Linked DNA regions of Homo sapiens: region 1 is linked to region 2. Evidence: promoter capture Hi-C in human tissues and cell types (Jung and others, 2019). All regions are on one chromosome and are shown on one strand. The core of a region is centred on a gene start or on the middle of the fragment in contact, and the rest is flanking DNA. Distances in the headings are between cores, read along the strand shown. Region 1 overlaps PARD3 (par-3 family cell polarity regulator). Region 2 holds the start of NRP1 (neuropilin 1).

Region 1 (2,700 bases), core at 67-2,566, 1.2 Mb after region 2:
ACCATTTTTAAAGTTTCTGTCCAAAACAGAATTATTAAAATTGTCTAAAATAGGCCAGGCACGGTGGCTCACACCTGTAATCCCAGCACTTTGGGAGGTCAAGGCAGGCAGATCACCTGGGGTCAGGAGTTTGAGACCAGCCTGGCCAACATGGTGAAACCTCATCTCTACAAAAATACAAAAATTAGCTGGGTGTGGTGGCTCATGCCTGTAATCCTAGCTTACTCAGGAGGCTGAGGTGGGAGAACAGCTTGAACCCAGGGCATGGAGGCTGCAGTGAGCCAAGATCACACCACTGCACTCCAGTCTGTTATGTTCCAATAACAAAAGTTACATAAAATAACATAAATTATAATAACATAAAATGAATACAGTAACGTAACTTGTGTAACAATAATTTAATGCCTAAAAGTAAAATAAGTCATACAGAAGGAAAGAGGAGAGCTTGAACAAGAGAGAGTACCAGTGAAAGAATGAAACTTCCTAACATGCACAATATTCACAACCTGTACATAATTTTTCTCATCAAAATTTCCCATCTACAGCACTAAAAAATTACTATATTACTTTTAATTGTGCAAAAGAGTTAAAAATAACTAATTTGTTACCACAGATTTTTGTTTTTTATCAAGCAACCACAATTATATAATGGCTAGAGTTTTATTTGTACAAATATTGCCCCATATGGCTCACCTAAATAAAAAATGGTCTCAAAGAAATACTCACTGATATGGCTTGGATACTTGCCCCCTGCCCAAATTTCATGTTGAACTGTAATCCCCAATGCTGGAGGTGGGGCCTGGTGGGAGGTGTCTGAATCCTGGGGACGATTCCTTCATGGTTTGGTGCTGTCTTCATGACAATGAGTTCTCAGGATATCTGATCATTTAAAAGTGTGTGTGTGGCACCCCCCTCTGCCCGACTTGCTCCTGCTTTCGTCATGTGACGTGCCTCCTCCCCCTTCAACTTTCACCATGATTATAAGCTTCCAGAGGCTTCCCTAGATGCCAAGCAGATGCCAATGGCATGCTTCCTAGAAAGCCTGCAGAACAGTGAGCCAATGAAAGTTACCCCAGTCCCAGGTATTTCTTTATAGCAATGTAAGAATGGGTGAATACACTCACTAGATCATTACTGTTCATTACTTTCCTTCCCAAAATACTGAAATCAAAATGATCAGCCCATTAATATCACTAGGTCAGATGCTCATTTCATATTATCATGGAAGACGATGTATTTGTAAAGTGCGTTATTTTCACACTACCGTAAATATTTAAATGCATGTAAAATGTGGTAGGCAAAATAATGCCCTCCCACCCTCCTCCCCGCCAAAAAAAAAAAGATGTCTACATCTTAATCCCTAGAACCTGCCATGTTACCTTACATCATACATGTGATTAAGGTAAAGACCTTGGCATCAGGACATTACCCTAGTGGTATGGAATGAATGTTGTGTCTACCAAAACTCAAGAGTGGAAATCCTAATCCCCAAGGTGATGGTATAGGATGTGGGGCCTTGTGGGAAGCTGTGTCCTCATGACTTGGATTAGTGCCCTTATTAAAATGACCCAATAGAGCTTGTTTGCTCCTCCCACCATGTAAAGACATATTGAGAAGTAAAGATCTATGAGAAGGCAAGCCTTCACTAGACACCAAAACTGCTGGCACCTTGATCTTGCACTCGCAGCCTGTAGGACATGAGAAATGAGGTTTGGTTGTTTATCAGCCACCCAGTCTAAGGTATTCTGTTGAAGCAGCCTGAATGGACTTAGACAGTGGGCTCATTTGGATGATCCTGAGTCTCACTCAATTCAAGACTATGTAGTCACATGAGTCTTAAACGTGGAAGAGAAGGTCAGAACGGAAGAGTCAGAGAGAGATGTAACCATAGAAGAAGGGTCCACAAGGTACAAGGTTGATAATGCTAGAGATGGAGGAAGGGCCATACACGAAGGAAGGCAAGTGGACTCCAGAATCTGGAGAAGGCAAGAAAACAGATTCTCACCTAGAGCCTCCCGCAGGAAGGCAGCACTGCCAACCCTGGATTTCAGCCCAGTGAGATCCACACCAGACTCTGACATGCAGGACTGTAATAAACTCTTAAGCCCTAACATGATGATGATTTGTTATAGCAAGAATAGACTAGTACTAATTGTGTGTGTAGCGATATATAGACACACACACACAGACACTCAGAACTACATATACCCTGCTTTCCAAAATTGGAAAAAATAAACTATACATTAGACTTGGCTAGGTGTGGTGGTGACTACCTATAGTCCCAGCTACTGGGGAGGCTCAGAGAGAGGATTACTTGAGTATGGGCAACATAGCAGGATCCCATCTCAAAAAAAACAAAAACAAAAAACAACAACTTTGATTAAACTAATTTCCCACTTTTGAAGAAAAGAGAAGGACAGATCTTAGACAAGGGGGAGAAGTGAGGAAGGCAGAGCTGGTGACTTCTTTTCTGGCAGAAGCACAGACACAGGCCCATGCATATCTCTGCCCAGCTGGCTTTCCTCCCTCTCCTCATAAGGGATCCAACTGAACCATGGATCACAGACCCATACTCAGAATTAAATGCAGTTTTATGCCTCAGTGTCCTTGTTTCTGCCTCCCATTCCCAACTCCCTTATTCTGGTTATTAAAAAAAATTGGCTATTATCAAATATTAGTAGATACTCATGTACTACTTAG
Region 2 (2,700 bases), core at 7-2,506:
TTATTAAAACAATATACCACAGTAAGTAGTGGATGTTCTTTTCTTCTAATTACTGTGATTGAAATCTAAGCCAGACAAAAGTAAATATTTGATCATTAGTTAATAACAATTGCTGACGACTTACTGTAAAGATAATTGCATACCCTTGCCTGCACTTACTTTACAGTGTGAAGTCAAACATGCCTACAACCAGATCCCATTTTAAAACACATTATTTAGGTTACATGGTACTGTTTAGACCCCAGTATAGTTTTTCATTTACTTAACAGTGAGTGATTTTAAAAGCTAAGTGGAAGCTGCAACTAGCTTAGGGATTTTCAGATATCCTGGTGCCTTACACTGTATATGTCAGATTCCTGTATTGATACTATGTAACTTTCAGTCATACTCCAGACAGATTACGGAAGGTGTACAAAGGCGGGGGAGGGAGTTTCATCAACCCACAAACCGATATCTCTGGCCGTCACCCACCAGAGGAAACGGCTTAGGGGAGCAGCAAAGGAACCAGGAAGTAAGATCTCCTGGTAAAGTGTTCATTAACTTTCAACAGCCATCAGATTTTTGAAAGGGAGTCTCTTCTAATTGCCTTTGGGAGGAAACATTATTAAGATAATTGGCATGCTGATCTGGGAAGGTAGACAGCTCTGTCTTGTAACAGAGGTAAGGAAAAGCCCCACAGCCCAAGGATCAACGTCAGGAGGGAGCCCAAAGACCTGAAATCCTCCTGCTCTAAACCGCCTGATCTCATTTCTTCTTCTCTCCTCCCAGATAAAAGTTTCCTTCGCCCGGGAGTCGGTTGTTCCCGGCTGATCCCGGGAAGCCCCGCCTGAGCCCCGGTCCGGGGCGGGCAGCTGGGAGCCGGGGCGCCGCTGTCACCCGCGCCTCTGCCTGTCACTTACCGTTGCGAAAAGCGCCGGCCGGGGCGAGGACGAGGGCGAGCACGGCGCAGAGGAGCGGCAGCCCCCTCTCCATTCTCCCTTCTCCGGGTCCGCAGGCAGACGCGGGAGAACGAGGACGTGGGGGGAAATGCAGCAAAGAGGAGAATCTAAGCGATCCGAAGAGCCCCAACTCCGCCTAGAGCTGTACAATCCTCAGCCCGTCTTGGAGAAAAGAAAGCAGCGAGGCAATGCCTGGATCCGAGAGGAACGCTTCTCTTTTTGTGTCTCAAGTCGCCTGCATCCTGTCATTTAGCTCCGGCTTCCTCTCCCTTTTCCCACACTTGTTCCTCTTCCAGGAGCCACTGCCCGGGCCATGTCTCAAAAAAAAAAAAAAAAAAAAAAAAGGCCGGGGGGGGGCTGTGGGTGGGAGGGGGAGGAGGGAGGTAGGGCAACACACACCAAAGCCAATTTCCAGGAAGAAAAAAAAAAAATCCGGCTTGTTTCTGGACCCGTTGGAGCCGCGGAGCTGGCGCCCAGGGGAGGTCCGGGTGTCTGCGGGAAGGAGGGGAACGAGCAATGAAAAGATGAGCGGGAGACAGAGGAGTTTCACCAACTGCACCCCCGCCTCCCCTCCTGCGGCCTCCCCCCACTCCGGAGCCCTTCCCTCGCTTCCTCCCGCCCCTCTCCCCGCTTGGGCTCGCCTGTAATTGCCTGACAGGAGACTGGGAGGAACAACTTTCCCTCCGAGTGCTCTCCCCGTCCGTCTGTCTGTCTTTCCCAGAGACCCTGCAGGGATCTCCGCGGGAAGGAAGGCGCTGGGAGTCTGCGCCCCGGTCGCGTGGGTGCGGGCGTCGGAGGAAGGGGCGCGGAGGTCAGTGCCAGCCGCAGGGTCTGGCCAGCCCACCTCGCGTGCTCGCTCTGCACCCCTAGAGGGAGAGCTGGGCAGCTCCTGCAGGCGCAGATCCCGCCGCCGCGCAGTGCGGAGCGCCCGGGAGGTGGCGGCTGCTTCTCGCAACTTCAAATCCCGGGGCCCGCGCCCTCGGCGGCGAGGAACGCAGGGTCACCCCCTGCCACTCCTCATCGCGCCATCCTGAGACCTGTGGCGGGGAGCAGCGGGGCACCCCTGGACGCCCCTGCCCAGAGCTGGAGGGCGAGGAGGGGAAAGCCGGGCTGGAGTGGGAGCCGCACCGCGAAGCCGGGCGAGGGGCAGCAGTGTCGCTGTGGTGTGAAGCGAAGACAGACCGCCTGGGCGGGCGAGGCCGGGCTGCAGCCCCACGCGGCCTCCCTGGCCCGCATCAGGGCGCGCGGCTGGGTGCCCTCTGCGCGCCGCGGAGGCTTCATTGTTTCCCGAGATTTGGTGCCCGTTCCTCTGGGGCAGAGGGAACACCGGAGGGTGGGAGGTGCTGCGCCTTCCAAGCAGGGGGGCAATCGCCGCCCGACCCCGCCCAACCTTGTCTGGGAGCCCAGGTGCTAGGGAGGGGTGTGGAAATCAGGGGTCGGGCGGCCCCCGTTTCTCTGTGCATCCCGAGGGAGGGAAAGAGTGGCGGGGGAGGGGTGCTCTTCGCTGCGCCCTCTCAGTGTCCGCTCCCGGCCACAGACAACGTGCACGCCGGCCCTGGAGCTCCTGCCACCCCCACTTCCCACAGCGGCTCGTGCCCCCAGCCCGCTGGATGCCCCCCAGGCCCGTCCCCGAGGGTTTTCCGAGAAGTGCTGCAGGAAGCGTTTGTAGATGCGAAAAGCAAGGACATTTCTGGGAAGAAACAGGTTGCGGTCACCGATCAGGCCCCGGAGAAGGGTCAGTGCCCACGGGGCACCTCCCAGG

Evidence for each region. The method cuts DNA at HindIII sites, captures the fragments that hold promoters and counts their contacts. A contact is called where the count stands out against the background at its distance.
Region 1: a contact is called between a fragment that was not itself captured here and the fragment with the promoter of NRP1 in region 2, in 1 of the 25 tissues and cell types used here (dorsolateral prefrontal cortex).

The regions. Positions count from the first base shown.
Region 1 is chr10:34,500,408-34,503,107 of GRCh38, forward strand. The region is part of intron 3 of PARD3 (par-3 family cell polarity regulator); the gene reads right to left. Among named protein-coding and RNA genes, the nearest start is that of PARD3, 310 kb to the right of the region's middle. The HindIII fragment of the contact is 6,066 bases long and covers 1-2,700 here.
Region 2 is chr10:33,333,411-33,336,110 of GRCh38, forward strand. NRP1 (neuropilin 1) reads right to left here and starts at 1,257. Exons shown (of 17, transcript NM_003873.7): 1 at 900-1,257. The coding sequence starts at 972. The HindIII fragment of the contact is 10,676 bases long and covers 1-2,700 here.